Regions from separate parts of the Homo sapiens genome. Here all the other regions are linked to region 1. Evidence: promoter capture Hi-C in 16 types of primary human blood cells and fetal thymus (Javierre and others, 2016). All regions are on one chromosome and are shown on one strand. The core of a region is centred on a gene start or on the middle of the fragment in contact, and the rest is flanking DNA. Distances in the headings are between cores, read along the strand shown.

Region 1 (3,308 bases), core at 585-3,084:
GACACCCGAGTTTCTGAAGGTTTCCTCAGAACACCCTCCCCATCCTTCTCAGTTCCAGCTCTCCAAGTCCCGCTCATCTTCCAAGATCTGTCTCATTGCACATCTTCCTCGCAAGCCTTCTCCAGAGTCATTCAGCTCACTCCCTAAGCTTCAGTTAAATCCCTTAGCCCTGCTTCCATCCAGATTCCTGCCCTGAAAACTTTCTACCTGGTTAGACTCATCACTGCCATTCAGCTTCCCTCATCAGAACTCCTGTTGCCTAATCTCTCCAGCCTTAGGTTGGTCTTTAACTATTGTTTTCTTTCTATGTGTATATCTTGTCTCTCACTGAAATGTAAGCTCCATGAAGCACAGCCACATGTTTCCTTTTTAGCCTTATACATACAGATGTATATTCACTTTGGGATCAATAGTGTTTGTCAACTCAAATAGGATGTGTGGGATGAATGATCCCACCTTCTGTTAGATTATTCAGCTCCTAAGTCATGCAAAACCAATACCTTGTGGACCTCCTTTCTAAAGCTCCTGCAGGGTGGGGAAAGAATGCACGGATTCTCATAGGTGCATTTAGCAATTACTAGTAACCAACACTTAATGAATGCTTACTAATTGCTAGGTCCTGTACAAAATACATTACATACATAAACTTATTCAATCTTCACGACAACTATTATTGTCCCCACTGAACAGATGAAGACACATAGAGGTCACTCAGCTAGTAAGTGGCGCAGCTAGGATTTAAAACCCAGACCGACTCCAGAGTCCATACTCTCAATTATGATACTAAATTCTTTATGGATAACAGAAAGTCTCTAATTGTAATGTAGATCAATTTCCTTGCTTTCTAACCCCATGGGAAGATGGAACTAAAAGGGTGAGAAAATAATATTTATTATACTCCTACTATAAGCCTAGTATTATAAGAGGTGCATAATGGGTTAATGATATAATTCTTGCTGTAAGTCTATGAAGCAGGAAGTATTAACTCCATTTTAAAGAATTTGGCTTCTAAAGTGGTTAAACACAGTGCTCAAGTTTTAGCTTCCAGTTATTGGCAGAGTTGGAATTAGACCAGGTTTTCTAACTTTGAAGGAAAGACTTAATTTAAAGGAGACTGTATAGAAAACCCTGCCAAGGGCAAATGTGAAGGGCACGTGAAAAGGCATCTGAATTATTACTTATAATAATTCAGAAATAGTGAATGTGTGGCGCATATTGAAGAATGATGAGAGATTGTCAAAAAATCTATTCTATAAACACTCACAGAGGAATCAGCTAATTAAATAAGCGAGCTGCCTGTCTTGGGCTAGGACATAAACTCCAAAACTTCCCACGAGGCAAGGGCAAAGAGGGCGCCACCTGTCCTGGAGAACCTGGGAACCCGCTCTAGAGACTTCGGCTCAGCCCCTTTTATTTCCTCACACTCTAATTGGCTACTTTTCCCTGGGCTCCGCCTCCTCCTCGGTCTGGACCATTAAACAGGCAAGCCCTACCCCGGACCTGGATGCGGCCTCCAATCAGGTGCCAGGCCCTGGAGTCCCTCTAGAGAAGCCCCCTCTCCACCGGCGAGGCGCTTTGCTCTCGTCCGTGATTGGCCAGGCAGCAGCATGGGGTCCGCCTCCTTCTCTTCCAGATTGGTCAGCGGTCCTCAGGACCACATCCCTCTCGGCAGGTCCCCGCCGCTTTTTCCCTTCGCTGCGTGGCCTTGGCCGAGACCGGTCCTCTGCGGAGAGGGCCCCGCCCTCTGTGAAGGCCCGCCCGGGAATTGGCGGCGGCGCTGCAGCCATTTCCGGTTTCGGGGAGGTGGGTGGGGTGCGGAGCGGGACTTGGAGCAGCCGCCGCCGCTGCCACCGCCTACAGAGCCTGCCTTGCGCCTGGTGCTGCCAGGAAGATGCGGCCGGAGCCCGGAGGCTGCTGCTGCCGCCGCACGGTGCGGGCGAATGGCTGCGTGGCGAACGGGGAAGTACGGAACGGGTACGTGAGGAGCAGCGCTGCAGCCGCAGCCGCAGCCGCCGCCGGCCAGGTACGAGGGGCCCGCGCGGCGGGGCCGGGGTGGCGGTGTGGACTGGCGGAGGGGCGGCCGGGCGGGGCGAGGTCTCCGGGCCATCCGCTGGGCAATCCGCGGGGCGGGCGCCGTTCGCAGGTGTGGGCGGCAGTGTCCGGCCGCTGGCCCGACCTCCACGAGCCTGGAGGCTCAAGGACGGCTCGGGGGCTCCCCACCTCTCCGCGCCTGGAGGTCTTACTCCCGGAGCTCTGGGTTCTGCTCAGAGCTCCGGGTACTTTTCTCTGCCCCATTCTGCCAGAAGTGTGTGCTGTCCCCAGGGGAAGCGATGAGGGGCCCTTCGGACTCCAGTGGGAGCCGCCCAAGGGCTCCGGAGGGTCCCTTCTCAAACCCCTGAGGTTATTGCTTCCTTTTAAAGTCCTGCAGTCGTCCAAAGAAAACCACCCATGGGGTCCTTAAGAAGCAAAGAAAATTAGGCGGTGGTGTCAGATGGAAACACACCCAGCCTCTCCCAACCACATTCTGGACTACCACGTTCAGTCCCCAACCAGGACATTGGTCCATAGATCTGGCAGGGAATCCAAGCTGGTCCCTCGAAAGCATCATTCTCTTAACTCTGCCGGTGGTGAGACTCTACCCCAGGCTCCAGGTTGGATTAGGTGGCCCCTTCGACCCTTTCCTGAACACGAGTGCTATCACACAAGGGGATTGTTTAGCCTGGTGGTGACTTGCGATGACTCTATACTAATTAACCATGCTGAATCATCAACCAAGTTCAGGCAGTTCTAAAATATTTTGAAAAGTTCTAAATTCAAGACAATGCTTATTATCAACCTTACAGTGGTCTGGACTGACAGATATTCTGTTGAAATGTGTTTTTAAAGATGAGCTGGTTAAAAAGATGCAAGATCGGTGTTCCTGGAAGAGAGTGTTGCGATAATTTTGCAGTTGACTTTAATACGTTTAAGTCTTGTACAGATATTAAGGAACGCTTAGAAAGTACTCTGTTTCCCTTTAGCGGGAGTGTGACTGTTGCAGTTTGATAGGATGGTGATCTTAATTTGGCTTTAACATAACTACTCCCCAGATGAGTAGTTATGATGGATAGGTCTGTTACTGTTTGCTGCGAAGCAGAAAATAAAGCATTTTTCCAGGTCATGTTGAGATATTGAGACTGAGTTGAGGGGAAAAATAAGTAAAGCAGACTTGACCTCCCCTGAAGTTGTAAGGTGTCAAAGCGAAGTAATACACAGATCAAAAGATTTGTTTTCACTTTTAAAGAAATAATTGTGTGAGGGAGGAAGTG
Region 2 (3,308 bases), core at 537-3,036, 800 kb after region 1:
AACAAGAATGTCACAGAAACCGAGGGAAGAGAATCTTACAAGAAGGGGGAAGTTATGCAAAATTACAGAATATTCAAGAAATAATAATGCCTAGGGCGTGTTCTTTCTGCAGGACCCTACTATCCTCAACAAGGAAAGCATCAGGAACAGTGAGGAGGGAGTTTTGGTGGTGTAATGGTGGTGGAAGCTATATCTCAGTGGAATGAGCATGAATAAGAGTGAGGAATTGTAGACAGCAGCTGCAGACAACTCTTGCAAGAAGATTGGCTGTGAGAGGTGGGAACGCAGGGGCTAGCTGGAGGGGACCTGGCACTGAAGGAGGGCTTCTTGACAGGAGTGACTTGAGCATGCTTAAATGTTGATGACAAGGGGTCAGTGAAGGAAAGGAGAGGGGTAGTAGAAGGAACATCATCTCAGAGGAAGGGGGAGGGGGTCCGGAGCATGGTGGAAGTGCCAACTGCTGTGTTGGGAGAAGAGGAAAAGGTGGTTAGAGATGCTGGTCAATGCATTGTTGTGGCAACAGGGAGTAGAGAATTTACACTTGGTGGCTCTATTTTTTTCTCTAAAGTTGATGGGGAGATAATCTCCTAAGAGCAAGAAGGGAGGCAATAGGGCAGAAAGTTTGAGAAGAATAATCATTGTGAGAATGGGAGAGAAAGCTAATTAAAGAGCATAGAATTGCTGGGGAGGGTTGCGAGCAGAAGAGAGGTTGGAGACTAGCACACTAATGGCCTCAATCTTTGGGGTTGGTAATTTTATTCATTGTTGCTCAGCAGCCCAGATGTAAGAGCCAAGAAGAATAGTTTTACTGACCCACGCAGATATAATCTAAGAACAGTGGGCAGGAGAGTTGATGATATTGGGAAGAGTGATTTAAAAGAGGGGTCATGGGAATTCCATGTTGGATAGGGAAAGAAATGATGACTGAGGGAAAGCTTGAGAAGGACAGACTAGAGAAATCAAGGGTCTGATGGAGTTAAAAGAAAAGATGAAGTAGAAGTGGGAGAGGCAGAAAGCCATGAGAAAGCCATGCCATCAGAGTGGGTGTGTGAATTTATGATTTCAGACGGGAAACAGTGCCCAGTAATGACATATCCAAGGTGCAGCCAGGGAAGGGTGTGTCTGAAGCACATGGAAATGAAGGTCATTAAGGAGGTCATGGCAATGAGCTTCCAGGGGTTAGGATGGCTCATCCACACTGGTGACAGGAGGACTAGAGGTAGGGAAGAAGACTGTGAGTCCAGGGCTGAAGTTTCAAGGAATCGAGGAGTGGGCAGGAGGTCAAGGAAAGTCAAGGGTGAGGTTGGGGTAAACATTGATGACTGCCTGATAAATCTCTAATGAACACATGGATGCATGAATCAGTGAATAAGTGAGCAAATGAATGCATTAATTCAGACTAATCTGGCACATTCTGGGAATGCCTAGTCATAAATCTTGAGATTCCCAAAGAAAACACCAGGCTCAGAGAAGGCAGATTACTAGGAGTGTAGAGGCCTCAGGTTATCGTAAGAGTTGAAGATGAGCAAATCTTTTCAGCCTATCCTATCTGAGAAGCTGTTTGCACTCTCCAGAACAGCCCATGTTCAGTACGGTAGCTATTAGCTCCTTGCAGTATTCAGAACCTGAAATACGGCTAGTCCAAATTCAGATGTGATGTCCAAGTAAAATACACACTGGATTTTGAAGACTTAGTACAAAAAAAGAACATAAAATATCTCATCTTGAACTATTGATTACAAGTTAAAATACAAAATTTTTGGATCTATGGGGTAAAATAAAATATTATTAATTAATTTCACTTGCTTTATCAATTGATTTATTTTTACTTTTTACATGAGGCTACTAGAAAATTTTAAATTGCATATGTGGTTCACAACATATTTCTTTTGGGCAGCACTGTCCCAGGCGTTGGTCCGTAGCCTCTGTAATCCTGAAGAAAGCACTATGCCGCCCCAATATTTGCACATGTTCAACCAATAAGTTAATAAATGCAGCCACTCTGTTGGAATTCCACATATATTTGTTGTCATAAGTAAAATTTTAGCCCTCAAGGGCTTAAATTTCTTATAGACTGGAAATGTCCCTTTAAGAGAGCATCTTAAGTCTCTCAAAGTATTGCAAAACCTCCCACTTGCTCCATTACATAGGTTCTGCACCCTGGAAACCATGGTAGTGATGGATGCAGGTGCTCATACTTGTCTTCATTGTTAGCACAGCTGGAATGAATTGAGGGAATCGTCTCTCTTCTTGGGATATTTCTGAAACAATGAGGCTGGAGACTGTGCAGATTGCACTTGTAATTTTCCTCTGACTGGGGAAGCCTAAGGCTCCACTCCTTCGGCCAAGTCTCCTTGGAACCTGTAGTTATTGGCTTGCTTAGTAATACTCATTACAATTTGGAGGGCAGGAGCTCTATTTTAGCCAGAAATTGTGGAAGAAGATCCTACATCAGCCACGTCTGGAGCTGCTTTTCTGCCCAAATCCAAAAATGTAATAGTAAACATTGAGAGTTTATACTGGGTCAGGCACAATGAGGAAACTGAGGCCCCAAGAGCTTAGGCAACCTGAGAGATTCCACAGGTAAAAAGTGGCAGAGCCAGGATTTCAACTCAGTTGGTCTAACTCCAAAGCTTGTGATCCTTATATCACCCTACACCTTCCAACACGGCTGATTATGGACCAGGAAACAAAAAGAGGGAAGCCTCACTTAACTGGCCGCAGAAAAAGCCTCTGAAAGAACATAGATCAGTTGGGCTGACACATTGTGCCCACACTGTGCACTGAACAGCCCAGTTGAGACTGGATCCTTTAGCAGAGGTTCCCAAACCGTGCATTGGAATAAGTAAGTGTTTAAGGGCCTCATTCCAGGGCTGCTAAATCAGAACTCTGGGAGTAGGGCCTAGAAATTTGTATTTTGAAAGCATTTTCCCAGTGGAGATAAGGGAACCGTTACCCTTGATTAGGATCTGATTTGGAACTTGGACTTCTGGATAACTCATGGTACAAAATGGAAGGAGGGTACAAGGAGGGTTTTACTTAAGCTACATCAAAGGAGGGGGCCTGACCTCGGGAGCGCCTTTGGTAGATCCACCATTTGTGCACTAATTTCTAAGCAGCTTCCCAACCTTCAGATTGCTGGGCCTCTGTTTCATCTCAAAGGGATAAGTGCTGTTGCCTGAAGGCAGGCAGACATTGCCACCTCTAGAACTAAGGGTAAGTAGTGGGAAGGCCACAATACTAACTCTCTCCTTCTTCCTCCTATTAGCCTTTCAGTGTTATGATGTACCCAGCTGGTCCAGGATCTG
Region 3 (3,308 bases), core at 519-3,018, 680 kb after region 1:
CTGGTCAAGCCTTCTGGACACCCCCCTCCCCTCATCCCAGCTGCACTCCCCAGAACAGCAGCAGCTGCCACTAGATAGGAAGGACCCCACCTCTGGTGTCCTTGGGGAAAGGGGCCTTGCATAGGCGGTGACACAAGCCACTTGGTCCCAGCTGCGGGTGAGGGGAGGGGCTAACACTTCCAGAAGACCCTGAACTCTGGCAGGCCTGATTGCTTTGCTCCAGGGCTGGTCTCAGCTGCTATCATGGATCCCTGGGAGCAGCTGGAGGGAAGAGAGATGGCATCCAGCGCCGATCGATCGTGGGAAGAAGCTGGCCCCTTTGGGAGGTAGCCCTGGGGCATGGCAGCACCACTCCTATCTAGGCTACCTCTGATGATTTTGGTTCTTTCTTTGCATTTCTGAGTCTAAGTTTTCATATCTGGAAAATGGGGATAGAACAATATCTACGTTCTGTGAGAATGGAGTGAAACGATGGACAAGACAAGCCTAGCACAGTTCTGGCACACCGTAGGTGCTGGATGAGTTTTCTCCTAGAATTTTCTTTTTTCTCCATACTCTCCCCTCTGTTACCGTCTGTAGAAGTGGAATTGCTTACCAGTGGTGGGGATGCTCTTGTAGGGAGAACGAGATCCTTCTGGTTCTGAAATATCCCTGCCTTTGCTGACAAGATTACAAGCCTGTATTGCTTTTTGCTTTTTTTTTTTTTTAATTGAGACAGAGTCTTACTCTGTCACCCAGGCTGGAGTGCAGTGGCTCACCGCAACCTCTGCCTCCTGGGTTCAAGCAATTCTCCCACCTCAGCCTCTAGAGTAGCTGGGATTACAGGCGCCCGCCACCACGCCCGGCTAATTGTGTGTGTGTGTGTGTGTGTGTGTGTGTGTGTGTGTGTGTGTGTGTGTGTGTGTGTGTTTAGTAAAGATGGGGTTTCACCATGTTGGCCAGGCTGGTCTTGAACTCCTGACCTCAAGTGATCTGCCCGCCTCAGCCTCCCAAAGTGCTGGAATTACAGGCGTGAGCCACCAGGCCCGGCTGTTTTTTTGTTTGTTTTTTAGAGACAGGGGTCTCACTTTGTCACCCAGGCTGGAGTGCAGTGGTGCAACCATAGCTCACTGCAGCCTCGATCTCCTGGGCCCAGGTGATCCTCTCACCTCAGCTTCCCAAGTAGCTGGGACCACAGGGGTGCGCCACCACACATTGCTAACTCATCATTTCTATTTTTATTTTTTGTAGAGCCAGGGTCTTGCTATGTTGCCTAGGCTGGTCTCAAACTCCTGGGCTCAAGCAGTCCTGTCTTGGCTTCCCAAAGTGTTGGGATTGCAGGCATGAGCCACTGCACGCGGCCCAAACTTGTATTTTGTTAACATAAATAAATGATAGAGAAGGCAGGCGAGAAGCGTAGCTGCCAGGCTGTGGGCCCACTGTAGCTGCCCACGCTTTCCAGTGGGTGCTGTGGAAGGGGAGGTCCTAGGTGGGGTGGGCTCCCTACCTCCCCTGACTGTGGCCCCGCAGCTGGGGAGGGATCTGGAAAGGGGATCATGGGCATGGTGATAGGAGACTGGTATTCCAGACTTCCCAGGTTGGGAGCCCAGTTGAGAGAGGAGGGGGGCTGGATGGGAGCCGGCCCTGGGGGAGATGGGGAGGGGCTAGGGGCCATTTGCTCTTCCAGCCAGCTGACCCTGTTATTTTTAGCCCTGGAATGCTCCTCCCAAGCCCCCTTCACTTCTATTTATCTTGCTTTGGAGTCTTGGTTCTTTCCCAGAAATTCCACATGAGGGGAGGCAGAGGGGATTGAGGGTGCCAGGAAGAATGGGACACACTGGCTGGGGCTGGGCTGAGGAAGAGGAGGAAGCTGCTCTCCTTCTCCCCACCCCAGCCCAGAGGCTGCCTTTTCCTCCTTTCTCCATTTTGGCTGGAAAATGGAAAAAACCTGGCTCAGAGAACACTCAGCTGTCACCAAGTTATCCTTCCTTCTTCTCAACCACCCAGATGAGACCTCCATTGTCCCCAGCCCAGGCCTTGGCTGCCCATCCTCTCACTTTTCCTTCAGGGAGCTCAGGGGACGGTTGGGGTGGTCAGGAAGGGTTTGCCTTGGAACCCGTAGCTGTGCATCAGGACACACTGGGGGTCCCTGGAAGGAGTTCCTGTGTGAAAATAAAAGAAGGGCCAGGTGTGGTGGCTCACGTCTATAATCCCAGCACTTTGGAAGGCCGAGGCGGGTGGATCACTTGATCCCAGGAGTTCGAGATCAGCCTGGGCAACATAGTGACACCTCATCTCTACCAAAAATTAAAAAAATTAGTTGGGCATGTTAGCACGTGCCCTGGGAGGCTGAGGTGGGAGGATTGCTTAAACCCGGGAGGTCGAGGCTGCAGTGAGCTGTGACTGTGCCACTGCACTCCAGCCTGGGCAACACAGTGAGACCCTGTCTCAAAAAAAAAAAAAAAAAGAAGAAAAGAAAAGAAAGAAAAAAAGAGAAAATGAACAGAATGAACAGGGGCAGTTAGAAAAGAATTGGTATGAATGCTGGAGGTTTTCTCAGCACTCCCTGAGCTTCAGTTGCATCCTCTGTAAAATGGGAATGACAACAGTTCCCTCTCTATGAGGGATCTGCTGGGGCATGAGCTGGTGAATAGATGGCACCATTTACACGTGGAAACCACTCCATCAATGTCGCCAGTGCTGGCAGGATGGGCCAATCCCAAGGCGGGTGTGCTTTTGGGTACTGATGGGGCCTGAGCCTCCTGAAGGCCACACCCCTCCCCAGCCTACTTTAGTTGCTGTCAGGCTGCAGAGTGCTCTGCTCTGGGCTCTTGGTGTTTTTCTTTTTTTTTTTTCTTTTTTTAAATTTTTTTATTTTTATTTTTTGAGACAGTTTTTCCTCTTGTTGCCCAGGCTGGAGTGCAATGGTGTGATCTCAGCTCGCTGAAACCTCCGCCTCCTGGGTTCAAGCGATTCTCCTACCTCAGCCTCCCGAGTGCTGGGATTACAGGCATGTGCCACCACGCCCTGCTAATTTTTTGTATTTATAGTAGAGACGGGGTTTCTCCATGTTGGTCAGGTTGGTCTCAAACTCCCGACCTCAGGTGATCTGCCCGCCTCGGCCTCCCAAAGTGTTGGGATTACAGGCGTGAGCCACCGCACCCAGCCTGCTCTGGGCTCTTGTTACAGGTGAATGTCACTCACTGGCAGCTCTCCCTGCTCCCCCCAGCACAGGGGTGAAAGTGGGCAGTAATTCTGGGATAAGGGACACTTTGAGGCAAGGTAATCCCCTCCTGCCAGTCCCTGGAGGAGAGGAGGGGAGTGTGCCT
Region 4 (3,308 bases), core at 556-3,055, 600 kb after region 1:
TGAAGGAGTCTAGGGACAGGCCAGATGCTGTGCAATGTGCCTGGCAGCTGCACATTGTACCATTCCAGCTTTAGGCCTGTCTAGGAGGAAGGCGTGATGAGCCCCACTTTATAGATGTGCCAACTGAGCTCAGAGAGGTTAAGTAGCCAAGGCCCTTTAGACCCAGTGCAATCCAAGCCCCAGGCAGCCTAGAGCCTGGGTCTGCCCAGACTCCAGTGTTCCTTTGTGCAGAGGGCCACAAACTTCTGACCTGCAGAGCCCAGGAAACCAAGACTCACAGCACCAGCCCCATCCCTTGGCCCTTTCCACATCTCCTTGAGTCTGAGTGTGAGCCTCACCGACACCAGTGAGCAAGGCTATCTACAGGCAGGGCTGTCAGGAAGCCCCTTGGGGAGAACACTTTCTAGGTTCTATGTTCATCTTTAATTATTTTTATTTTATTATTATTATTATATATATATTTTTAGAGATAGAGTCTCTGTTGCCCAGGCTGGAGTGCAGTGGCGTGATCTCAGCTCACTGCAACCTCTGCCTCCAGGATTCAAGCGACTCTCCTGCCTCAGCCTCCCGAGTAGCTGGGATTACAGACGCCTGCAACCACGCCCAGCTAATTTTTGTACTTTTAGTAGAGATGGGATTTCTCCATGTTGGCCAGGCTGGTCTCTAACTCCTGACCTCAAGTGATCTGCCCACCTCAGCCTCCCAAAGTGCTGGGATCACAGGCGTGAGCTACCGCACCCGTCCTAGGTTCTATGTTCTGAGGGAACACAGTGGAGCTGTCCAAGCAGTATTTCCAATCAGGGATTCTGGAGCAGGGCTGTTCTTCTGAAGTCGTCCTCAGTTGCCTCCTACCCTCAAACTTAATTTAAAAATGAGCTTACCTCTGTCTCATTTTTGATGGAACAGAGAGATGACAGGAAACAGGCAGTGGCCCTGATTTGTAAGGTATATTGCTTCTGTGGGGAGTATCTACCCCACTAGCTGGTGTCTTCCCTCCCAGTCTTGCTTTTTTTTGAGACAGAGTTTCACTCTTGTTGCCCAGGCTGGAGTGCAATGGTGCAATCTCGGCTCACTGCAACCTCCGCCTGCTGGGTTCAAGCAAGTCTCCTGCCTCAGCCTTCCAACTAGCTGGGATTACAGGCACACACCATCATGCCTGGCTAATTTTTGTATTTTTAGTAGAGACGGGGTTTCTCCGTGTTGGTCAGGCTGGTCTTGAACTCCTGACCTCAGGTGATACGCCTGCCTCGGCCTCCCAAAGTGCTGGGATTACAGGCGTGAGCCACCGTGCCTGGCCTCAGTTTTGTTTTCTTCAGGCTGAAATGCTGGTCAGTTACCTCTTGGGCGTAGCTTGATTGTCCTGCCTCTTTGGGGGTCACAGGTGTGCATCCACCAGGTCTGGGGTGCTGGATCCAGGAAAGCTTACCTCTCTACATGGGAACTATAATTGTGGCTCCCAGGTTTAGGTTAGACTCGAGAGAAGTGTCCCAACTCCTGACTGGTCTCCCGTAAGCTCTGGTGTCTGCCCACTTCAGGCCATGGCTTTGTAGCAGAATCCATTTTTTTTCTACATCTGAGCAAGTCACACCCTTGCTTAGAAACCTCCCTTGGCTCCCTGTTGCCTACAGGGTAAGTCCAAATTTCTTAGAACAACAATCAAAGCCATCATCCACCATTTCGCCATCCCAGGAGTTTGTTTATTTATGTATTTATTTCAAAACAGAGTCTTGTTCTGTTGCCCAGGCTGGGCAGTGGCACAATCCTGGCTCACTGCAACCTCCGCCTCCCAGGTTCAAGTGATTCTCCTGCCTCAGCCTCCCGATTAGCTGGGACTACAGGTGTGCACCACCACGCCCGGCTAATTTTTTGTATTTTTAGTAGAGACAGGGTTTCACTATGTTGGCTAGGCTGGTCTCGGACTCTTGACCTCAAGTGATCTGCCAGTCTCAGCCTCCCAAAGTGCTGGGATTATATAGGCGCAAGCTATCGTGCCTGGCCCCAGGAGTATTTTAATTTTAAAAAAGGTATTAGATACACATGGTAAAAGAAAAAAAAATCAAAGAGCCTGAGAAGATACTCAGAGAAAAGTAAGTCGGTCTCCTTCTCATTCCAAATCTCCAGTTCCCCTGCACTGTGGGCAGTTATTTCGTGTACATGTTCAGCAGTATTAAAAGCACAGAGAAGCTTAGATCTATAATATATGTCTCCTGAGGGCAGATCTTAGGACAAGCCAGGAAAAGCGGAAAGGTCCAGGACAAGGAACTGGGCTTGGGTCAGACAGAGCCCCAATCTGGGTCTGGGGGCTGATGGAAAGTCAGCAAGATGCCCCCTGCCCCCACAGCCAAGGATTGGTTCTGGTGCATCCTAGGCTTCTGGGCAAGGAGTGTGAGTGAGTGAGTGTGTGTGTGTGTGTGTTTGTGTGTATCTTTGGCCCACAGGCCCACATCCAGGGCATTCACATCCCTGTGTTTAGCTGGGTGCCCTGAGCAGCCCCTGGATGACTGGACATTCTCTGGAAGGACTTGGGGGAAGAAGTGGGGCAGTGTCTATGGAGGCCAGCTATCCCAACAGCGTCCAGAGCCTTCCTTACCAATAGCCTCATTCCCCTCCCTCTCCCACCAGCCACAGCAGCTCGTGGAGGCTGTCAGAATTGTACTCCTAGGTCACAGACAGGGATGCTGTGGTTGAAAGAAAAGACTGAAGGAGAGACATTATTATTATTATTATTTGAGGCAGAGTCTCACTCTATTACCTAGCCCGGAGTGCAGTCACGCACTCTTGGCTCACTGCAGCCTCCATCTCCTGGGTTCAAGTGATTCTCCTGCCTCAGCCTCCTGAGTAGCTGGGATTACAGGCAAGTGCCACGATGCCTGGCTAATTTTTGTATTTTCGGTAGAGACAGGGTTTCAACATGTTGGCCAAGCTGGTCTCTCACTCCTGGCCTCACGTAATCAGCCGGTCTCGGCCTCCCAATATGCTGGGATTACAGGCGTGAGCCACCATGCTCCATGGGAGAGAAATTATTGACTGTAGACTTTGGAACTGACAGTGGGCCAGGCACTGTCATATATGACTTCTCCTTCATTATGGTAAATCTTTGAGGCTGGTCGTGGCCATGATTCTCCTTTGAAAGGAAAATCCCCACAGTAGGTCCTATTATTGGTCCCATTTCATAGACAGGCAATCGAGACAGGGGTAAATAACTCACCCCTGCCTGGCTTCACTCCTCTTTGTCACCTGAAGGACAGTTCACACCCTCCCCTCACTCTGCCCCCACACCTCGCTTTTCACCAGCACAGACCCTGCCA
Region 5 (3,308 bases), core at 329-2,828, 580 kb after region 1:
GGTGAGTCAGGTTTCCTGCCCTTAAAAATGTGAGCAGACAGTATATGCTTTCTTGCTTGTCACTTCACAACGTCCAGGGAACGTCGGAGGGACATCAAGGGCCCAGGGAGAGGGAAGGAAGAGGAGGGGAGGAGAGAGGAGCCCGCGCATCCCTAGGCTTTGAACCCATTTCAAACGCTCTGGGCGTTGCAAACCAGGTGCGCTTGTGCACAGACTGCTTGTCCCAAAAGGAAACCGAGGCAACCACGGGGGAGGCTGGGTAGGGATGGTGGTGGTAAGAAGTATTTTAAAGCGGAACAAGGAAAGCCAGAAGATGTTTAAAACAAAAGGAGAGACTATTGTTCAGCGTCGGAGGTCGCTGGGATGGAAGCTGTAGGCAAGAAAGCTGGCTGCGGATTTTGCAGTGGGTTTATTGTGTGGGCAACCAGGCAGAAAGCGGGAATATGAAAAAGTGGGGAGGGGGAGAGTTGGCGTGAAGGAAAATCAGTGCCTAGAAAGCTGTGCACGCTGAAAATGTCACCAAGGAGAGGGCAGTGGCACCGAATAAAAGATGAATAATCGGCTACCTTTTGGAAAAAGCAATGTAAAAATATTAATAAAGGCGAGAAGCCCGCTTCTTCTCAGCCTGAAAAGCAAATCCATTTCTCACCTCCTGCCTCTCCTCCCCATCCCAACACACACAAAACACACACATACACACAGCTCTTCTCTGCCCTGCATCCAAGAAGCCTCGGCTAGGCTCGCTTTCCTTTGGATTTAATTACTCGAAAATGCTGAACAAAAACCTGTAATTACACCCTTAGTCCCTGCCACTCAGGCCCAGTACACTTCCTGCCTAGTTTTGTTTTTTAAAGAAGAGGTCATTGCCTCTTTTCTTTCCAAATTGGCCAAAACAAAAAAAAAAAGTAAAAGCCCTAAATAAATCCAACTGCTCCGAGCTTCACTGCCACCACCAGGGATTTGGGGAGGGGATATCCTTGTCTCTCTAGGAGAGATGAGAAACAAACAGCCTAACCTTGCTATTGTCTTTCTCCAGCTTTTAGGCCTAAAGCTTGTCATTGCTTGTTTGTCTGCCAGCCCAGAAGGACATGGACATGCTAGATTGGCCCCCCAGGAGGAGGCCCTCCAAGGGCAAGATGAAGAGAGTGGACAGGGCTTAGCGGCAGGCCTGGCTTTCCACCCATTTTACCTCGAAGGGCTTAGCGCTGGAAAAAAGATTTGTCACAGTGTCTCGCCTTTCTACAGCCCTAGGCATTAACATACAGAATTTCATAGCAAACCCCTGAAGTAGGGAGAACAGGTTTTAATATCAACCTTTGACAGGTGAAGAAATGGAGTCCCAGAGAGAATAAATAGATTGCTCTAAGTCAGTCATGTGGCTGGTGGGAGTATTGAAAAAGCTCTGCCTCTTATGACTTTTGGGCTATTGCATCAGGAAAGTAGGACACCTAGGAGGAAATGGAAGCTTCTAGATTCTGGGCTACAGCCAGTCTGGCTTGGTTCATCCAGCACTGAGATAGAAAGTGTTCCCTAAATAAATAGTTGAATAACTGAATGAATGGTAAATGGAAGGGCACTGGTTAGGGAGTTGGGGAACAGAAACCCACCAGGCCATCTGGTAGCCAAGTTTCAGCTTCGAAACAAAATGTAAGTACTGAGAATAGTTTCACACCAGGAACCTATCAAGCTTACTCTTCTGTGTACGGCCAGAGAGGGGAGTTCAGGTTAAAGTATGGTGGTCCTCTACATGTGTTGGAGGGGTCACTTTGTTTCCGGGCTTTCTTGCTCCAGTGATGCCTAGGCCAGATTTGATGTCAGAGCTATACACCTACCCTTGGCTAGAAGTGCTTTTTTTTTTTTCTCTTAAGAGATGAAGGCTGGGTGCGGTGGCTCACACCTGTAATCTCAGCACTTTGGGAGGCTGAGGTAGATTACCTGAGGTCTGGAGTTCGAGACCAGCCTGGCAAACATGGTGAAACCCCATGAAACAATATATACAAAAATTAGCCAGGCATGGTGGCAGGCACCTGTAATCCCAGCTACTTGGGAGGCCGAGACAGGAGAATCGCTTGAACCCAGGAGGTGGAGGTTGCAGTGAGCCGAGATTGCGCCACTGCACTCCAGCCTGGGCGTAGAGTGAGACTCCATCTCAAAAAAAAAGGTCTTGCTCTGTCACCCAGGGTGGAATAGTGGAATGCAGTGGTGTGATCATAGTTCACTGCAGTCTTGAACTACTCCTGGGCTCAAGTGATCCTCCCACCTCAGCCTCCCAAGTAGCTGGCACTACAGGTGTGCACAACTGCACTGCACCTGGTGGCCAGAAGTGCTTTGAGGACTGTAGCCTGCCACAATCATGTGGCCCCTAGCCTAAGGACAGGACAGTACATGTTGGGTGAGTGTCTATACAGCTGGTGTGACCCGTATAAGGTGGCGCACGTTACTTATGTGATATGACTTTTGGGTATGAGAAGAGGCTCCTTCCACTATAAAATGCACTCTCTTCATTTTCCTCCTTGTTTATTGTTCAGCCTGGGGTCTTTCTCAAGAGTGCACAATGAAAATGCTGCTGTCCTTGGTAAGGGTATCTCAGTAAATTCCTAAATGCTTCAGTGAGTTCTAGAACTTCAGATTTTCCTCCATCACCTCTGCCAAGGACCGGGGTATAGAAAAGGCAGGAAGAGACCAGATGCGGTGGTAATCCCTGTACTTTGGGAGGCTGAGGTGAGAGAACTGCCTGAGCCCAGAAGAGACAGGCCTGGGCAACATAGTGAGATCCCCGTGTCTACAAAAAATAAAAAACTAAGCTAGGTATGGGGTGGTGCATGCCTGTAGTCCCAGCTACTCCTAAGGCTGAGGTGAGAGATCGTACCACTGCACTCCAGCATGGGTGAGACCCTGTCTCAAAATAAATAAATAACATGTTTTTGTTTTTGTTTTGGCAGGGGCTGAGCGCAGTTGCTCACGCCTGTAATCTTAGCACTTTGGGAGGCCCAAGCAGGTGGATTACTGGAGTCCAGGAGTTTGAGACCAGCCTGGGCAACATGGCAAAATCCCATCTCTCTCTTTTTTTTTAATACTAAAAATAAAAAATGAGCTAGGCGTGATGGCACACACCTGTAGTCCCATCTACTTGGGAGGCTGAGGTGGGAGAATCATCTGAGCCAGGGAGGTTGAGGCTGTATGGGCTGAGATGGCACCACGGCACTCAGCCTGGGCAACTGAAGTGAGACTTTCTCCAAAAAAAAAAAAAAAAAAGAAAAAGAAAGAAAGTAAAAGAAAAAAAAAGGCAGGAAGAAAGAGAATGGTTT
Region 6 (3,308 bases), core at 279-2,778, 530 kb after region 1:
GGGCACTGTAAAAGCATACTACAGAAAATGCCTCCAGCTGGTCATCTTTTTCTCTGTACATCATAGAGATAATTGAGGTGTGTGTGTGAGTGTGTGTGTGTGTATGTGTGTGTGTGTTGTATGCTGATTTCAACCCACATACCTGCCCAAACTATTCAGAAGCTGCCTTGTACCTGTTAGACCCTCATCCTGAATCTTTTTAGTGGAAAGACTTTTAAAGTATTTCCCCCAAAAGAGCATAAGGAACTTCACCCTAAAATATGGCTCCTAGATATAATGAGTATTTTGAGTTAAAAGCCCTTAGAGATCAACAGATGTTGGAAAAGACTTTTCCCTTATCTACATAAAGATTGGATAGACCCTACAAGGAGAACAATTGTTTCCCAGCCCCTGCCCCTTATTATCTATTTTCTTTTCGTTTATTTTTTGAGACATTGTCTTGCTCTGCCACCCAGGCTGGAGAGCAGTGGCATGATCTCAGCTCACTGCAACCTCTGCCTCCTGGGTTCAAGCAATTCTTCTGCCTCAGCCTCCCGAGTAGCTGATATTACAGGTGTGTGTCGCCACATCCAGCTAATTTTTGTTTTTTGTATTTTTAGTAAAGACGGGGTTTTACCATGTTGGTCAGGCTGGTCTTGAACTCCTGACCTCAAATGATTACCTACCTCAGCCTCCCAAAGTGCTAGGATTACAAGCGTGAGCCACCTTGAATTTTTTTTTTTTTTTTTTTTTTTTTTTTTTTTTTTTTTGAGACAGAGTTTCACTCTGCCACTTAGGCTGGAGTGCAGTGATGTGATCTTGGCTCACTGCAACCTCCATCTTCCTGGGTTCAAGCAATTCTCATGCCTCAGCCCCCTGAGTAGCTGGGATTACAGGCATGCACCACCACACCTAGCTAATTTTTGTATTTTTAGTAGAGACGGGGTTTCATCATATTGGCCAGCCTGGTCTCAATCTCCTGGCCTCAAGAGATCTGCCTGCCTCAGCCTCCCAAAGTGCTGGGATTACAGGCATGAGCCACCGTGCCTGGCTTCCTCCTCTTATTATCTATTGCAGAAAAGACCAAGAATGTAACCACACCTGAACAGACTCTTTCACAAGATGATGTCTCTCTTGCAGACTCACTCAGACAACCATTTAGAAATTAATCTCTGTTCCTCAATCCATTCATTCTCCCTAGCAACCATTTATTGCCAATCAACAGAATTACCTGTATTCCCTATCTCCCCCCTCCACCTGAAATAAGGCTATATGGACCCCATTGGGCAGTGGGGTAAGCACTCTGTGGTTCTCCCTGTTTGCACATTAATACATTTGTACGCCCTTTCTCTAATCTTCTTTTGTGAGCTGATTTTTTTGGCAAACTTTCAGAGGTCGAAGGGGAAGGTTTCTCTTTGCCCCTATACTCCTTCCCCAACTAAATACGAAGTCGTCTATTTATTGAGATGAGAGTCTCTTTGTCACCCAGGCTGGAGTGCAGTGGCATGACCTGGGCAATAGTGCAGCCTTGACCTGGGCTCAAGCAATCCTCCTGCCTCAGCCTCGCAAGTAGCTGGGACTACAGGTGCATGCTGCCACACCCAGCTAATTATTTTTTAAAGATGGGGCCCTCCTATGTTGCCTAGGCTGGTCTTGAATTCCTGGCCTCAAATGATCCTCTCGCCTTAACCTCCCAAGTAGCTGGGATTACAGGCACAAACTACCATGCCCGGCTTTGAAGTCTTTGATTTAAACTCACACCTTCTCTCTCTCTAGGCCACCCAGAAAGCTGTTCACTTGCCCCTTTGTGTGGAAGCATTTGATTTTTGGCTTGGAGGTTTGCCTTGGCTTCATATCTTGCCTCATAGGTTTACCTCCCTTCTGTCAACAGCCTTTGGATCCCAGTTGAGTTCACCAGCATGGGATTAACAAAAGACAGGGAACACAGACCACCACAGCAGAAAGCCCAATGGAATTGGAGCTCTTTAGTGGAACTTGTTGCTTCAGTAATAGGAAGCTGACTACAAAGACCAAGATTAGGAATAGCCTCCATATAGAAATTATTTACAAAAATTGAGTACTTTGTGTCTTGTAGCTTGATCTAGACTGGCTTGTTTTGTAATTTCTTGCGTACTTCTCTGTCTCCCTCACTGGAGTCTAAACTCCTTAAGGGCTGGGATTATATCTTAATGGTTTTCTCCCACAAAGTAAATTCTGCATAGTAGATGTTCAACTAACTTGCTATCAGTGGGACCCAAACTTCCTGAACATTTAACAGTGGGCTCACATATCACTGAAAGGACTCCAGAGAAGGAAAAGACACCATGAAGGAGGGGAGTGAGTAGCTTCCGTGGGCACAGGTGCACAGGAGCTCGTCCCTATTCTTTTGTCAGTTCCCTGACATGCTCCACTCTCTGCCACCTCCAGGCCTTTTGCACACACCTGTGTATGGCCACTGGGGAAAGGAGGAATGAAAGTAACTGTGACTCCCACAGGTTTTGCTCTACACTTGTCATTCTGGCAAAGAAATCCCAGAGCCTGCATTGTTCCTCCCACCCCTCTGAGTCATTGGAGGGTCTTTTCCATTCTGAAATTTACTCAAGAATGCTCTTGAATCCTCCTCCTTTATGTTTGATTTGGCTCATGGCTGACTCTATTTGGAATTCCATGAAGAATCTTATAAAACCTAGTAGTCAGTAGAGATATAGTGGCTGTACTTTGCAGACCGAGATATACCCAAGAATGTCATATGCCAGTACTCCTCTCTCCAGCCCCAGGGAGTCTGGATGGGCCTTTGTCAAGTTTCACTTCACAGGATTGGCCAGCTGGGCTTGTTTAAGTCAGCACCAAAACAGGTTAAACAGGCTCCATATGTTGGGTTGAAGCCACGCCCAGTTGTTCGTCAGAACTACCTGGTTGATTTTATCTCGATTCAGAATCTGCTTTCTTCACAGCCAATTGCCTGATTGCAGAGTCTAAGGTCTCAAAATTAAATCTCAAACAGGAGACTGAAAAGCAAGCAGTCAATTTGCAAAGACTTAAATATAATATTGCGGTGGGGATGGGGCATGTTGAGACTCAGAAAACAACACCCCAAACTGAAGGCCTCAGAAAGCAGCCTCAAAAGCAAAAGTTTTTCTCTGACCTTCTCCTGCCCTCCTGTCTCTCTATCCCATTCTGTCCCCAGGCCAGCCATAGAAACTAGAATCCCTCTTCCCCAAGGCGGGTCAGAGAAACAGAACCCCTTTTCTCCAAACCATAAAACCTAAAAATAATTTTCCTTCCACCTTGCTGTGTAAAAACTGTCCATAAAGAAATTACCTGACTAC

What was found. Contacts are between HindIII fragments. The CHiCAGO score rates a contact against its expected background, and 5 or more counts as called.
Region 2: a contact is called between a fragment that was not itself captured here and the fragment with the promoter of SPTLC2 in region 1, in 1 of 17 cell types (naive CD8 T cells). The highest score is 5.8, in naive CD8 T cells.
Region 3: a contact is called between a fragment that was not itself captured here and the fragment with the promoter of SPTLC2 in region 1, in 2 of 17 cell types (activated CD4 T cells and neutrophils). The highest score is 5.1, in activated CD4 T cells.
Region 4: a fragment that was not itself captured here is called in contact with the fragment with the promoter of SPTLC2 in region 1 in 1 of 17 cell types (naive CD8 T cells); the score reaches 5.8 in naive CD8 T cells.
Region 5: a fragment that was not itself captured here is called in contact with the fragment with the promoter of SPTLC2 in region 1 in 2 of 17 cell types (activated CD4 T cells and naive CD8 T cells); the score reaches 5.1 in activated CD4 T cells.
Region 6: a contact is called between a fragment that was not itself captured here and the fragment with the promoter of SPTLC2 in region 1, in 1 of 17 cell types (neutrophils). The highest score is 7.1, in neutrophils.

The regions. Positions count from the first base shown.
Region 1 is chr14:77,615,163-77,618,470 of GRCh38, reverse strand. It overlaps SPTLC2 (serine palmitoyltransferase long chain base subunit 2), which reads left to right and starts at 1,834. Exons shown (of 12, transcript NM_004863.4): 1 at 1,834-2,023. The coding sequence starts at 1,892. RefSeq lists silencers at 1,408-1,467, 1,798-1,847, 1,988-2,187 and enhancers at 1,507-2,039, 2,368-2,577. The HindIII fragment of the contact is 6,254 bases long and covers 151-3,308 here.
Region 2 is chr14:76,814,382-76,817,689 of GRCh38, reverse strand. No RefSeq gene overlaps it. Among named protein-coding and RNA genes, the nearest start is that of ANGEL1, 3.2 kb to the right of the region's middle. The HindIII fragment of the contact is 1,698 bases long and covers 938-2,635 here.
Region 3 is chr14:76,938,613-76,941,920 of GRCh38, reverse strand. No RefSeq gene overlaps it. Among named protein-coding and RNA genes, the nearest start is that of LINC01629, 19 kb to the left of the region's middle. RefSeq lists an enhancer at 1,482-1,982. The HindIII fragment of the contact is 5,193 bases long and covers 1-3,308 here.
Region 4 is chr14:77,014,598-77,017,905 of GRCh38, reverse strand. No RefSeq gene overlaps it. Among named protein-coding and RNA genes, the nearest start is that of IRF2BPL, 12 kb to the left of the region's middle. RefSeq lists an enhancer at 2,864-3,308. The HindIII fragment of the contact is 763 bases long and covers 1,424-2,186 here.
Region 5 is chr14:77,034,899-77,038,206 of GRCh38, reverse strand. No RefSeq gene overlaps it. Among named protein-coding and RNA genes, the nearest start is that of LINC02288, 4.5 kb to the left of the region's middle. The HindIII fragment of the contact is 222 bases long and covers 1,468-1,689 here.
Region 6 is chr14:77,087,969-77,091,276 of GRCh38, reverse strand. No RefSeq gene overlaps it. Among named protein-coding and RNA genes, the nearest start is that of CIPC, 8.6 kb to the left of the region's middle. The HindIII fragment of the contact is 8,703 bases long and covers 1-3,308 here.